4 separate regions of the Homo sapiens genome follow, and all the other regions are linked to region 1. Evidence: promoter capture Hi-C in human tissues and cell types (Jung and others, 2019). All regions are on one chromosome and are shown on one strand. Each heading gives the region's core, a stretch centred on a gene start or on the middle of the fragment in contact. The rest is flanking DNA. Distances are from core to core; before and after follow the strand shown.

Evidence for each region. Contacts are between HindIII fragments. The study calls those that stand out against the background at their distance.
Region 2: a fragment that was not itself captured here is called in contact with the fragment with the promoter of SLC2A6 in region 1 in 1 of the 25 tissues and cell types used here (spleen).
Region 3: a fragment that was not itself captured here is called in contact with the fragment with the promoter of SLC2A6 in region 1 in 1 of the 25 tissues and cell types used here (dorsolateral prefrontal cortex).
Region 4: a fragment that was not itself captured here is called in contact with the fragment with the promoter of SLC2A6 in region 1 in 2 of the 25 tissues and cell types used here (dorsolateral prefrontal cortex and spleen).

Annotation. Positions count from the first base shown.
Region 1 is chr9:133,477,842-133,481,656 of GRCh38, forward strand. It overlaps SLC2A6 (solute carrier family 2 member 6), which reads right to left and starts at 1,258. Exons shown (of 10, transcript NM_017585.4): 1 at 1,127-1,258; 2 at 413-575. The coding sequence starts at 1,218. RefSeq lists enhancers at 788-847, 1,268-1,769 and a silencer at 1,008-1,657. The HindIII fragment of the contact is 12,347 bases long and covers 1-3,815 here.
Region 2 is chr9:132,959,328-132,962,656 of GRCh38, forward strand. It overlaps a transcript of GFI1B not described here and the pseudogene RPL39P24. Among named protein-coding and RNA genes, the nearest start is that of MIR548AW, 15 kb to the left of the region's middle. The HindIII fragment of the contact is 7,856 bases long and covers 1-3,329 here.
Region 3 is chr9:134,000,844-134,004,555 of GRCh38, forward strand. No RefSeq gene overlaps it. Among named protein-coding and RNA genes, the nearest start is that of VAV2, 10 kb to the left of the region's middle. The HindIII fragment of the contact is 4,029 bases long and covers 1-3,712 here.
Region 4 is chr9:134,060,385-134,064,143 of GRCh38, forward strand. The region is part of intron 1 of BRD3 (bromodomain containing 3); the gene reads right to left. Among named protein-coding and RNA genes, the nearest start is that of BRD3, 5.8 kb to the right of the region's middle. RefSeq lists enhancers at 1-24, 2,205-3,116. The HindIII fragment of the contact is 7,576 bases long and covers 1-3,759 here.

The sequences.
Region 1 (3,815 bases), core at 8-2,507:
TTTTAGACTCTGGGACTCTGGGATCTTCCTCTCCATCAGCCCACAATCTGTCCTGCGGACTCTCCTTGCCCCAGCCAGTGCCTCTCCCCACTGACACCTGATACCCTTGCCCCCATCCAGCCAACTGTGGGTGTGGGGACCCGGGGAAGCCTCAGCCCCACCTAGTATAGACCCTGACAGCCACCTCCCCACCTGCTCCTTCCCTCACCCTCTCCACTGGCTTTCAGTTCCTCATTTCAGAGGAATCCTGTAGCTTTACCCCACCCACTAGTGGCCTGGATGGCTGGGGGAGGGGGGACCAGGGCCCTGGAGGGACCCCCAAGGTGGAGAATTTGGGAGGTTCCTAGCTGGAGATAAGGCTCAGCAGGTCCCTCCTTCCTGCACCCACCCTCCTCCAGAGGATGGTCCTTACCCCAAACCAGGATGCCTGGGATTTGGTCAGATGCAGGTCAGGATCCAAGGAGCGCTCCAGGGCTGGGATGACAGGGGATGTGTAGACCAGGGCATACCCAAAGCTGAAATTGCCGAGCACTGCGGCGAAGGTGGCCAGGAACACCCTTTTGTTCTGCAGGGTCCTGGTGATGGTGGCGGACAAAAAGACCAGGGTCTCTGAGTCCCTCCTCCAGGGACCATTGCCTTTTCTGAACCCAGTGGCTGCCCGGCTCAGCGGGCAGTGCTAGGGAGGCCTGGGTCCAAGGCCATTCACGTTCCCAGGGCCTGAGCCCCAGCTCCCCTGGGAAATTCCCAGGCCATTGTTAGCTCATCCGCAGTGGCTGAGCCTCTGGTGCTGGGGCCTTTTCTCCGGAAGAGGAGGCTCTGGTTCTGCCCCCAGGGCGGCGGCTGGAGGCTTGCTGTGTGACCTCAGGCAGAACCCCTGCTCGCTGGGGCCTCAGTCTCACTGTCTGTGGCAGTGGGGGGCTGGGCCCGGTACTCTCGTGGATCGTTCCTTCCCTTAGGGGGACCAGTTCCTTAAATAGGAGTAGCGTGTCTGGGACAGGAGGGAGCCAGATGGCCCCTCGGTGGCGACTAGGTCAGGGGAGGCCCAGGGCGGGAGCCTGCCGCCGGCTGGAGGGAACCAGGGCCACCCCCAGGCCCCACCCGCAGCCCCCAACCTAGCGACTCTCACCCGACCCGCGCCCTGTCCCCTGGCGACGGGGGCGGCTTCTCGGGGAAGGTGTCGTAGTCCGGGCCCTCGGCTCCCAGCAGCGGCTCCTGCATGGCCGGGTCTCTCTCGGGGCGAGCGGAGGGCGCTCAGACTGGAGCAGCCGCCCGGGGCCAGCAGCTCCGAGGGCACCGGCCAGGCTCCGCCCCTTGGCCGCTATTGGCTGTGGGACGGCCCTGCAGAGACACGCCGGCCAATGGGGCGGCCGCAGGCTGTCCTGATGCTCGGATGCGGACCCGGCTTCCCCGGGCGCGGCCGGCACCGCGTGCGCCCCCGAAGGTCACGCCCCAAGACAGGATGGGGGTCCCAGGGCGGAGCCCCTGCTGGATCGTCCGGGGCCCCCGCGGAGCGCCGGAAGCGGCTCACCCGGCCCGGCTCTTGCAGGCGTGACTGCGGCAATGCGCGCAGCCCCTGTCGTACTCGCTCCCGCGGGGTGGAAACCGAGGCCCAGAGAGGCGAAGCCGAGCGCCAGGGTCACAGCGAATGCGCACCTCGCTCCTCCTTACGCTCTAGCCCTCCCCGTCGCGTGGCGTCTCAGGGCCACCTCTGCCCTGGCTCTCCCTGGCACCAGGGAATCGGGGTGTGTCAGGGCAGCAGCGGATGTGCGGGACGAAGGAGGCAGGAGGGGCCGGCGAGGCGCTGTGGGCAGCTCCAGTGGGCGAGGTCTGTATCCTCCACCCCAGGCTCTGGTGGTAGAAATAACCTGAGCTCGTGACACGTAACCCAGGTAGTAAGATAACATTGAAAAATAAGAAAAGCAGAAATGGAAAATTCCCGGGAAGACCGTCCTCAAAAAATCCCACAGCAGTTCCACCTCTCCCTTTGGGCCTTTTCGGGAAGAGGACGGAATCACGCCCTGCTCTGTTGGATGGACGTGCCACACACGCTTTTAAACGGAGCCTTTGTTGCTGAGTATTTGGGTCATTTCCCATTTTAGCTATTAACATGGTAAAGCATTTTTAAAAGTTAGAATTCCCTTTTATTATGATTGAAATACAACCATAATAGAACAATAAAATCACATCCATCTCCCGTCAGCCTGACCTTGATGGCGTTTTAGCCTCTTCCAGTCTTTTCCTCATGTGCCTATTTTGCATATTTGCTATTGGGGCCCCCATTAAACTGTGCAGCCCCTTTACGTCACCGTTTTCTTGCCATCAAGATCATAGGCTTTGGACTCAGGCACACCCTGGTATGGTGATCAGGCTGCACAGTCCTCGTGGCCATATATATACGTATATACATATATATGTGTATGTATTTTTACATATCTATATGTGTATTTTTTTTTTTTTTTTTGAGACGGAGTCTCGCTCTGTTGGCCAGGCTGGAGTGCAGTGGCACGATCTCAGCTTACTGCAACTTCCACCTCCCGAGTTCAAGCGATTCTCCTGCCTCAGCCTCCCAAGTAGCTGGGATTACAGGCATGTGCCACCACGCCCGGCTAATTTTTGTATTTTTAGTGGAGACGGGGTTTCACCATGTTGGCCAGCTTGGTCTTGAACTCCTGACCTTGTGATCCTTCCGCTTCAGCCTCACAAAGTGCTGGGATTACAGGCGTGAGTCACCGCACCCGGCCTTCTCTTTTTTTAAAATGTATTTTTTTTCTTTTAAAATCAACTTTAGGCCAGGTGCAGTGGTGTGTGCCTGTAATCCCAGCATTTAGGAGGCCAAGGTAGGAGAATTGCTTGATGCCAGGAGTCTGACACCAGCCTGGGCAACAAAGTGACCCTGTCTCTACAAAAAGCTAAAAAAGTTGTCCAGGTGTGATGGCAAGTGCCTGTGGCCCCAGCTACTCGGAAGGCAGAGGTGGGAAGATTGCTTGAGCCCAGGAGTTTGAGGCTGCGGTGAGCTGTGATCACACCACAGCACTCCAGCCTGGGTGACAGAGGGAGAGCCTTCTTGAAAAAATAAAATACAAGAAAAATCAACTTTGTTAAGCTATAATTTATATACAGTAAAATGAATCCATTTTAAATATAGGTTGATGAGTTTTGACAATTGTATAACCCCAAACACCCCCAATCAAGATATAAAACATTTCCACCTTTTCTTTCTTTCTTTTATCTTTTTTTGAGACAGAGTCTCTCTCTGTTGCCCAGGCTGGAGTGCAGTAGTGCGATCTCGGCTCACTGCAACCTCCGACCACTGGGTTCAAGCGATTCTCCTGCCTCAGCCTCCCGAGTAGCTGGGATTACAGGCGCCCGCCACCACACCTGGGTAGTTTTTGCATTTTTGGTAGAGATGGGGTTTCACCATGTTGGCCAGGCTGGTCTCAAACTCCCAACATCAGGTGATCCTCCCGCCTTGGCCTCCCAAAGTGCTGGGATTACAGGCGTGAGTCATCACGCCCAGCCCATTTCCACCCTTCTAGAAGGTTTCTTTGTGCCTTTCTGAGGTCAACCTCCTTTCCCTGCTCCCCAGTAAACTATTTTTTTTTTTGAGAGGGAGTTTCACTCTGTCCCCCAGGCTGGAGTGCAGTGGTGCGATCTCGGCTCACTGCAAGCTCCGCCTCCCAGGTTCATGCCATTCTCCTGCCTCAGCCTCCTGAGTAGCTGGGACCACAGGTGCCCGCCACCATGCCCGGCTAATATTTTTTTGTATTTTTAGTAGAGATGGGGTTTCACCATGTTAGCCAGGATGGTCTTGATCT
Region 2 (3,329 bases), core at 745-3,244, 520 kb before region 1:
AGAAGGACATGTTTGCTTCCCCTCCTGCCATGATTGTAAGTTTCCTGAGGCCCTCCCAGCCCTGAGGAACTGTGAGTCAATTAAACTGCTTTCCTTTATAAATTACCCAGTGCCAGGATTTCTTCACAGCAACGTGAGAACAGGTTAATACGGACAGTCCAGTGAGAGACACGTGTGAATATCTAGCAGAGTGCCCACGCAGTGTGAGCACTGAGTAAATATTGTTACTGTTGATGCCTGCTATATTCATTTCCCAGGGCTGCCATAACAAGTTACTGCAAACTGGGTGGCTTAAAACAACAGAAGATTATTCTCTCACAATTCTCGAGGCCAAAAGTCCCAAACCCAAGGTGTCAGTCAGCAGGGTTGGTTCCCTCTGAAGGTTCCGAGGGAGCAGCTGTTCCCTGGCTCTTTCTAAGCTTCTGGTGGTCACTGGCCATGCTTGGTGTTCCTTGGCTGTGGCTGCGTCAGCCCAGTCTCTGCCTCCATCTTCATGCAGGCTTCTCCTCTGTGTCCCTCTGTGTTTGCTCCTCTTCTTATGAGACCCCAGGCATTGTATTTAAAGCCCACCTCAACCCAGTGTGAATTCAGCTGAACCGAACTTCATCTTCAAAGACTCCCTTTCCAAATAAAGTCACGTTCTGCGGTTCCAGGTAGACATGAATTGGGATGAGGAGATAATTCAGTCCCCTATACCTGCTGGCAAGGAGCATGGACCCAGCAGATGACATGGGAAAGACTGATCCTACTCTGCTCAAGGCCAGGTCCAGCCCAGAACCACCCTACAAAGTGCTGCAGGAGAAAGACGTCAAAATTAGAGTGATGAGGGCAACTTACTGGTGAGGGTGAGACTTGAACTTTGCTTCTGGTTTCATCAAGAATTTGATCAATGGTGATGGAGCAGATGGGCTTTACGACAGTAGGACCCAGCTTGAGCAGAAGCAGGGAAGCAAGACCACAGAAGGCTTGCTTGCTTTATAAATGGTCAGGTGTAGGGAATAGGAGGCAAGAAAAGTCATGTATGAAGGACCCTGGGCTAAATAAGCAGCCTGGGCTATATCTGTAGGCAACGCAGAACCCCTGGAAGTTTGTGAGTTCAGGAAAGAAGGAAAGAGCTGTCTGTGGAATGTTGTCAAAGGCTTCATCTTGACATTGATGCCTGCCAATTTTATTTATTTATGTATTTATTGAGACAGGATCTCGCTTTGTCCCTGCTTGGAGTACAGTGGTGCGATCATAGCTCACTACAGCCTCGAGCTCCTGGGCTCAAGTGGTCCTCCCAACTCAGCCTCCCAAAGAGCTGGGAATATGGGCATGTACCACTACACCCGGATACTTTTTTTATTTTTATTTTTTTAGAGATTGGGCCTAACTATGTTTCCCAGGCTGGTTTCGAAGTCCTGGTCTCAAGAGATCCTCCCACCTCAGTCTCCCAAAACATTAGGGTTACAAGCATGAGCCACCGAGCCTGGCTCAATTAAAATTTAAAATTCTGGGTGTTTTGTCTTCTTGGGTAGGCCACCTCCTCTCTCAAATCCCTGATCACGCCTCTACACACCCCCAGCAATAAATTGTGCCGGGCCACACTCCGCAGCGTGTTGGATGTTAAAGAGTTTCATGGTCACCGTGAGACCATTTCTCAGTCCCCCAAGCAGCAGCATTCACAGCTAGAGGTTTTATTTTAGCTGCGCCTCCCCTGAAGCATATGCAGTGACCATTTGGAAAAAGATAAAGTTAGATCCCTCTCCACACCCTACACCAGAATAAACTTTAAGTGTCAAAAGTGAAATCATACGAGTGCAAGAAGAAAACATGAGTGAATTCTGTGTAATCAGGAGTGAAGAAAACCTTTCTAAAAATGGCTGAACAGTCAGAAACAATAGAAGACCGATAAGTTAGGCGACCTCAAAAAACCAAAGCAAAACAAAACAAAACAAAAACCTTTTCCATGGTAAGAAGAAAGCAAGCAGAGCAAAGTCAGAAGATAAATGATAGACGGAGAGAAAACTTTTGCAACTTATATCACAAACGGCCTCTCTAATATACACAGAACTATTATATCACAGTCTTAATTGTGAAAAGTCAATTATTTGACAAAAAAAAAAAACAACAGAAAAAAGGCATAAATGGAAAGTTTTCAGAAAAATGTAAGTGACCCTAAGAAGTATGAAAAGACAGCCTCACTCAACATAAAGGAAACACAAATTAAAACTACCCTGGGATGCCCTTCCTCCTGTCCTATCAGATTGGCAAAATACCTCTCATTTTTTTTTTTTTTTTTTGAGACGGAGTCTCGCTCTGTCGCCCAGGCTGGAGTGCAGTGGTGCAATCTTGGCTCACTGCAAGCTCTGCCTCCCGGGTTCACGCCATCCTCCTGCCTCAGCCTCCCCAGTAGCTGGGACTACAGGTGCCCGCCACCACACCTGGCCAATTTTTTGTGTTTTTAATAGAGACAGGGTTTCACCATGTTAGCCAGGATGGTCTCGATCTCCTGACCTCGTGATCTGCCTGCCTCAGCCTCCCAAAGTGCTGGGATTACAGGTGAGAGCCACCGCACCCGGCCAAAATTCCCCAAATTTGACAACCCACCTTGCTGGCAAGGCTGTGGGAACAAATCTACACTTCTGGGAGTGGGAGGACAGGACTGCACACCCTCTCTAGACAGGAATTTGGCCATATCTAAGGCCATAATGTGTGCATTCTTTCTTTGCTATGCATCTTCCCTACACACCTACACTCTACACACACACACACACACACACACAACCCTACACTCACACATGTGTGCATACAGAATTGTTTTTTTTTTCTTTTTTTTTTTTTCTTTTGAGACAGAATCTCACTCTGTCACACAGGCTGGAGTACAGTGGTACCATCTCAGCTTTCTGCAACCTCCACCTCCTGAGTTCAAGCAGTTCTCGTGGCTAAGCCTCCCAAGTAGCTGGGGCCACAGATGCGAGCCACCATGCCTGGCTAATTATTTGTATTTTTAGTGGAGACAGGGTTTCACCATGTTAGCCAGGCTGGTCTCAAACTCCTGACCTCAGGTGATCCGCTCACCTCAGCCTTCCAGAGTGCGGGATTACAAGTGTGAGCCTCCTCTCCTGGCCCATAAAAGATTCTTTCTTCTCTCTCTCTTCCCTTCTCTGCTATCGTGGTGTGTGTTTGACTCTGCTTCTCGCCATGTCTTCTCACAAGACTTTGAGGATTAAGTGATTCCTGGCCAAGAAACAAAAGCAAAAATCATCCCATTTCCCAGTGGAATCAGATGAAAACTGGTAATCAAATTAGGTACAACTCCAAAAGGAGATATTGAAGAAGAACCAAGC
Region 3 (3,712 bases), core at 657-3,156, 520 kb after region 1:
CATACCCAAATTGTTTCCCGTAAACTTAGAAGTTTGCCAAAAATGAAATTGAGTATCAATTTTTAAATTAATTAAAATTAGAGGCCGGGCATAGTGGCTCGCACCTGTAATCTCAGCACTTCGGGAGGCCGAGGCAGGAGGATTGCTTGAGGCCAGGAGTTTGAGACCGGCATGGGCAACACAGTGAGACCCCATCTCTACAATTTTTTTTTTTAATTAGCCAAGCATGGTGGCACACACCTGTGGTACCAGCTACTCAGGAGGCTGAGGTGGGAGGATCGCTTGAGCCCGGGAGGTCGAGGCTGCAGCAAGCAATGTTTGCACCACTGCACTTTCACCTGGGAGACAGAGCAAGGCCCTGTCTCAAAAAACAAAAAACAAATTAGATAAAGATTCAGTTCCTCAGTCAGACAAGCCTCATTTCAAGAGCTCAGAAGCCACACATGCCTGGTGGCCACTGATATCTTGAACTTGGACTTGGGTCCACCTGCCTGAAGCCTGGTTCTGCCCCACCAGCATGAGCTTCTGTCTCCTCTCTCATGAGTGGCCATATTGCGATCTGCCCCACCCGTGGCCATAGGGGTTCTGGGAGAGCGGGGATGTAAAGAGTTCCGCGCTGAGGCTGACCCCCCCATATCAATACAAGAATGCAAGGATTGCTACTAAAGAGACTCTTCTCCTCCATCAGCTCAGAACTGGGCCAGCTTTGCCTGTCCCTGGGACACTCAACAATAGCAGGCCTTGGAGACTGCTCAGATGTACACACATACGTGTACGTGTGCATGTGCATATGCTGGGAACTGGGGAGAGAGTGTGGGTGATACTTCCCCAAGGGTTGGCCAAGCCTTTCTGGGCTCTTTTCTCCATCTGACCCCCATCCCCACCTGCAGGAAGAATGACCCCTTTAAATCTGATTGTGCCCCCTGTTGCTCAAAGCCCACCTTTGTGTCTACATAAAACCCTACACACCTATATTTATAGCGGCATTGTTCAAAACAGCCAAAATGCTGAAACAACCCAAAAGTCCAACAAAACAAAACACGGGGCTGGATGCAGTGGCTCTCACCTGTAATTCCAACACTTTGGGAGGCTGAAGCAGGTGGACCACCTGAGGTCAGGAGTTCGAGACCAGCCTGGCCAGCATGGTAAAACCCCATCTCTACTAAAAATACACACAAAAAAAACCCAATGATAACTAGCCAGGTGTGGTGGCAGGCACCTGTAATCCTAGCTACTTGGGAGGCTAAGGCAGAAGAATTGCTTGAACCTGGGAGGCGGAGGTTGCAGTGAGCCGAGATCGTGCCATTGCACTCCAGCCTGGGCAACAAGAGCGAAATGAAAACAAAAACAAAAAACACAGATAAACATATGGTGGAATATTACTCAGCCTTAAAAAGGAATGAAGTTTTCTGATCCATGCTACAACATGGATGCAGCTCGAAATTTTATGTTCAGTGAAAGAAGCCAGACACAAAGGCTACAGGCTACACGTTGTATGATTCCATTTCTATGAAATGTCCAGAACAGGCAAATCCAGAGAAACAGAAAGTAGATTGCGAGGTGCCAGGAGGTGGGGAGGGGGAGTGACTGCTCATGGGTACAGGGGTTTGGGGAGGGATGAAAATGTTATAAAATTGATGGTGGCGATGGCTGCACAACTCTGTGAATATACCAAGAACCGCTGAATTGTGCACTGAATTGTGGGTGGATTGTACAGCATGCAACTTCTATTTCAATAAAGCTGTTTGTTATATTTCAAAACAAAACAACAGTCTTGGGTCCCCCACCCTCTGAGCACATCCAGCCTCCTAAGCATGATTCTCAAGGCCCTCTGCACCCCTCACAGCCCTCTCAGTCTAATTTATGCCACTCTCCAGACCCACCCCAAATCCTACAATACTCATGCTCTTGAAATTCTCTCCACACCAAGCTGTGTCTGGCTTTGTCCAGCAGTGGGCCCATGGGAGGTTGGTCCCCCAGGAAATGTGTATGTCTCCTAAAACCCAGCTCAGCCATCGCTTCCCTCAGGGACCATCTCCTGGCCTCCCCAGTGCCCTCTGTACCTTGCTTAGAGGTCCTGCAATGTCTGCCTGGGTGTGGGGTGGGCTCCTGGGGGCTTGGCCTGGGGGCTTGGCCTGGGGGCTTGGCCTGTGGGCTTACCTCCTTTTTGTCCTCCCAGCACCCAGAACAGGGTCTAGCATGTCTCTGGGCAACAGAGGCTGCCACCGTGGCCCCTTGCCTCCTGGGGAGGTCTCAGGGGTCCCAGAGGGTGCTGTGTTGTTTCTGAGCACAACTGATGAGAGTTAGACACCAGCATGAGTTCATTCTCCCATCCATCCACCCATCCATCCACCCACCCATCCACCCACCCATCCACCCATCCATCCACCCATCCACCCACCAACGCACCCATCCACCCATCCACCCATCCACCCATCCCTCCATCCATCCATCCATCCACCCATCCACCCATCCACCCATCCACCATTCCATCCTCCCACCCATCCATCCACTCAGCCCTCCATCTATCCATCCACCCTCTACCCATCCACTCATCCATCCATCCATCATTCATCCACCCATTTATCCACCCATCTACCCATCCACCCATGTGTCTATCCACCTACCCAACCATCCATCCACCATTCATCTGTACATGTATCCAGCCATCCATCCATCCATCCATCCGTACATTTATCCATCCATCCATCCATCCATCCATCCATCCATCTGTACATTTATCCATCCATCCATCAATCCATCCATCCATCCACCCTGTGCAAGGCCTGGGGAGATGCAGAGCCAGTCTAGGATTGTCACAGTGTCAGGAGGGAGGTGTCAGATGTGTCTGAGAAACAGAGGCTGCTGCCCTGGCCTCTTGTCTGCTAGGGAGGTCCCAGGGGTCCTAGAGGGTGCTGTGTTGTTTCTGAGCAGAGTTAGACACCTGCAGATGCCCTGAGCCCCCTCCCATCCCACCACACACCCCAAGCTTCATGTTGATGCTGTGTGGCAACTGTGCTGAACCTATCAGAGGTCTCCAAGGCAAGTGTTCTCCCAGGGTCACCAGGCTCATCCTGGCTCCAAAGAAGTGGGTTTTGCTGCTAGGGCCATGGTGAATTTCTTGGCTCCATCCCGTGGGAGAATGTGAAGGTCTGATTGCAGCTTCTGTGGGGCCCACGGGTGGGCTCAGGCTGGAGATGTTGATCTCAGACCCCAGTGGTGACTGTGGCACATCCAGGATGGGAGAGGCCGGTAGGAATGGCCTCCTGAGACTGGGAACCCCTTGAGAAGAACCCCAAGGTCTGGCCTCCCCAGCCTCTCACACATGCTCGGGGCTGTCTGTAGGAGAGCCAGGGGCTTCCCCAAGTAGGGGCTCCACCCAGTCACTCTGAGGCCCTGGGCAGGCGAGTCAAAACTCTGGCCTCTGGCCTCTGTGTGAAATGGGCACAGCAGGTACCCAGGGCGCTGAGATGGCCGCATGCCCAGCGCTGAGGACAGCTGACCCTCCCCTGGCTCAGGGCCCATGCAGTCTCCTCCAGGGTCCTAGCTCAGAGCTCCATGCTCGCCTGCCGTGACGCTAGGAAGTCCCTCCCATAGCCATCTTCACTTCCCTGAATGGTCCAAGCTCCCATGGGCTTACTCGGCAGAGGGTGGACCCGCTTCTCTCAAACACCAGTGGGGCCACCCAGGGTCCCAGCGCCCCACGACAAAA
Region 4 (3,759 bases), core at 1,049-3,548, 580 kb after region 1:
GAGTTCGAGACCAGCCTGGGCAACATAGTAAGGCCCTGATTCTACGAAAATTTAAAAAAATTAGCCAGGCCTGGTGGTGCACCTAGAATCCCAGCTATTCAGGAGGCTGAGGTGGGAGGATCACTTGAGCCTGGGAGTTTGAGGATACAGTCAGCTGTGATCGCACTGCTGCACTCCAGCCTGGATGTCAGAGCAAGACCCTGACACACACACACACACACACACACACACACACACGATCTGGAATGCCATGGAGATTTCCAAAGTAGCCAGCGGGGAGAGGGCAGTGGCCAGGCTCCCCTAACACTGACTAGCCCCCTTCCTGGGTCCCACTCATGCCCCATCCAAGAGAGGCTCTGTGCTGGACATGGAAGGAATGTTGGTGAGGTGGCCCGAATCCTACCTATCCTCACCCTTGCTGTGTGGCCCCAGGCAGGCCCACCTCTGGCCCTGAAGCTGTGGGTGGCCCCCTGAACCCTTCCCAAGGTCCCTGGACTCTGCCTTCCTCTCCATAGGGCACAGGAGGACCTGAATGAAAAGCAGAAATTCAGCCCCCTTTAGGCTGGCCCAGCCCAGAATTCATCAGAAAAGATGCTGAGTCCAGGGCTGTTTCAGGGCTGTGGACAAACAGGGAGGGAATGGGAATCTGTCCAGTTGCCACCAAAGAAAACACCCAGAAATGCCAGTAGCAGTCTCCCTGACCCCTCCTGCCATTCCATGGCCCTCTTGGGGAGCAGAGACCCAGAGGGGCAGGAGCAGGCATGTCGCCTGGGCAGCACAGCAGCCTAGCCTTCAGGCACTCCACAGAGGGAGGACAGAGGGGTGCTGCCTCCAATGCCACACCCTGGGGCAAACCAGCCAAGGGGCAGCGGCTGGACCATGGGGGCATCTCCAGCCTGGCCTGGGCCCAGAGCAAAAAGTCCTTATTTGGGGTCCAGGGATGGGGAGTCCCAGCTTTCAGCAAACAGGCAGGGTTGGGAGGACAGCTTACCAAGGCCATTCCAGCTATAGCATGAGTCTGGAGGAGCAGTGGCAGGGAGGGGCAGGGCTACATAGCTCTGCAGGGGCTCAACCAGACCTGCCAGCTAAAGGGTGGGAGACAGGAGCACTGGAACCAAGGGTGGGGGTGCTGGAGGAAGCTAGGGGAGGCCTTTCCCAGGGGCTCCCCATTCCCCATGGGTCTCCAGCCCTGGAATTTCCATAGCTCTGGGCCTCTGTACCTGTGTCCCTGACTGGATGGCCCCCACTGGGGCACTCCAGCCCGTCTCCTGGACTCTGTCCTGCGTCAGTGGGGGTCAGATGAGCCCCATCTTCCATAAGTGGAGGGGACGCTCAGAGGTGAAGGGGCACAACGTCGCCCAGGCAGAGAAGGCCAGAGCCAGCTTGAACAAAGCTGGACATCCATGCCAGACTCACCGCCAACACCCCACAGCCCCAGAATTCTCGGGATAATGCTGGGAGCAGTGCTGTGATCGGCTGTGGCAGGAGGGAGCTGAGTCTGTGAGAAGGGATCCCAGCCTGCTGCCCCCACAGCCCCATCTAACCCGGCCAACCTAGCACCTGTCCCCAGGCGGCCAGAGGGGCCTCCCCAGCCCACGTGGTGACCAGCGGCCACCCTCCAGGACTCGGGAAACTGGATCTGTCAGGGCAGGGCTGCCTTCAGTGACAGACGGAGCCAACTGCTTCCTTCTATGGAGCCAGGGGAGAAGTCGGGGGTTGGGGGCCCCCTGTAGCCCTGGAGGAGCCCTGGGGAGGGCAGCTGGGCATCGTGGGCCCCACCCAAGCAGGCACGGCCAGCCCTGGCGCCTACTCCCCAGGGGAATCTGCCCAGTGCTGTGAGCCCCCCATGCACAGCGCACCTGCTCTCCTGCAGCTGCCTGGCCGCCTGGAGGGCCCGGCTCTACAGGCCCAGCCCTGTCCCGGGGCGCTTCAGCAGACTGGTGGGGCTATCCTGGGGCATGGCCCCAGACACGCTGGGCAGGTGCAGCTGCCAGCGCTGCCTCTCCCGTGACTGTCCCCTGCACCCCACAGTTCTCCCCACTCTGCACCCACCAGTGCCTTCTAGACCTAAGACCTCATATGCCTCCTGCTTTCTGAACCCAGGGCCTGTGCTTCTCCATGGCCCCACGGCCCTGGGTGAGCGGCCTCTCTGAAGGTTTCCCTTCCTGCCATGACGCCCCCACAGCCTTCTGGCCACAACCCGTCACCTCTTCCAAGCTCCGTCCCTACCCGCCTCTCTACCCACTCCTCGAATAGAGAGGACTCAAAGGACGCTCTACCCCCGTGGGACCCTCATGAGGCGCGTGAGGAGGCCCGACCCTCCACACATGCTGGGAACGAGGAAGTTGGCCCCACAGACACTGGTCAGGCCCTCCCAACCCCAGGCCACCGCCACGTAGTCAGGGTCTCCCACGGGTCTGGGAAGGGCAGGAGAGCCACGACTCAGGCAGGGGACTCTCTTCAGAGGGGCAGTGAGTGAGGACAGCACCTGGCCCTTTAGAGGGAAGGAGACACCGTGCTCTTAGAGGGACACAGCCTCAGGGTCAGGCCCTGGTGCTCCGCACTTCCTAAAACAAAGCTGCGGCAGGCCCACCTAGCATCCATCTGTCTGCTCCATCTCCTCTCAGCCGGCCTGACAAGAACCAAACTCACAAAACACCCCGGCCCCAGGAGACAGGCCTGGCCTCACTGCTGTCCCACTCAGCCATGCCGAGCCAGGACAAGGGGCCAGCAGGGCCGCAGCTCTCAGACCATCCCCTTGGTTATTTCGTCTATGTTCTCTGCTCACCCCCAACCACAAATGCCGAGGACTGCAGGACGCCCCCAGGCCTGTTGCCGGGACAGACCGGAGGCAGAGCTAAGAGCAAAGCGTGGGCATGCAGCACATCTGTCTGTGAGTCCACAGCCCACGGAGCCACCGTGCTTGACCCTTGCCTCCTACCCAGCCCCTGGTACCAGCGAGGGCCTGGTCAGCATACCCAGGGCTCTGTCCTGTGGTGTGGGCAGATGGGGGCGGGTGGCACCCTGGACCCGCAGGCTCACACAGCTGCCCCTTTGCACATTTTGCTCCTTGTGGGATTGTCAGGCCAAGGCTCCAGTGACGCATGGCACAGGGAGGGCATCCTCTCAGCCGCTTATAGTAGATTCTTCCTTCTGCCACATGACAGGTTATAGCTACAATACTCAGCACTCCTGCAGGGGCCGGGCACCTCACACAGATGCATCTGTGCCTCATCTCGGTCAGTGCTCACACGGAGGCTAAGGCCGTCCCGCCCCAGAGTCCCACAGCTCCCAGGTACCGACTCTTAGTCCCAGGTCCTCACAGGTGCACTGAGGGCACTCCCTCTGCCCCAGACTCCAGGCCTGGCCAGCAGCCGCCTCTGCAGATCACACCCGAGTCCACTGGGTGCTTTGCAAAATGCTGCAGCTGGTTATCAAGCCACACTCAGAAAGATCCAGCCGGCGACTCCTGAACATCACTGCACCCTCAGCGGGACACTTTTCCAAGTGGCTGGAAAAGTTGTCTCCCACAATACCGGATTAACTTCTGACGAACTCAGTACCTTGGGGGCCTGCGGCAAGGAGGGGGGCGGGGGCATGTTCCACGCCCCATCTTCCCAACACCAGGCTCCGAAGGCCCTGTGAGGAGGCAGCCTGCGAACTGACTCTCAGGGAACAGCCACAGACTGGTGCGAGACGCAGACAGCCAACAGCACGGACACAACAGGGTCCGAGCCTCCAGCCACACGCACAGGTCCT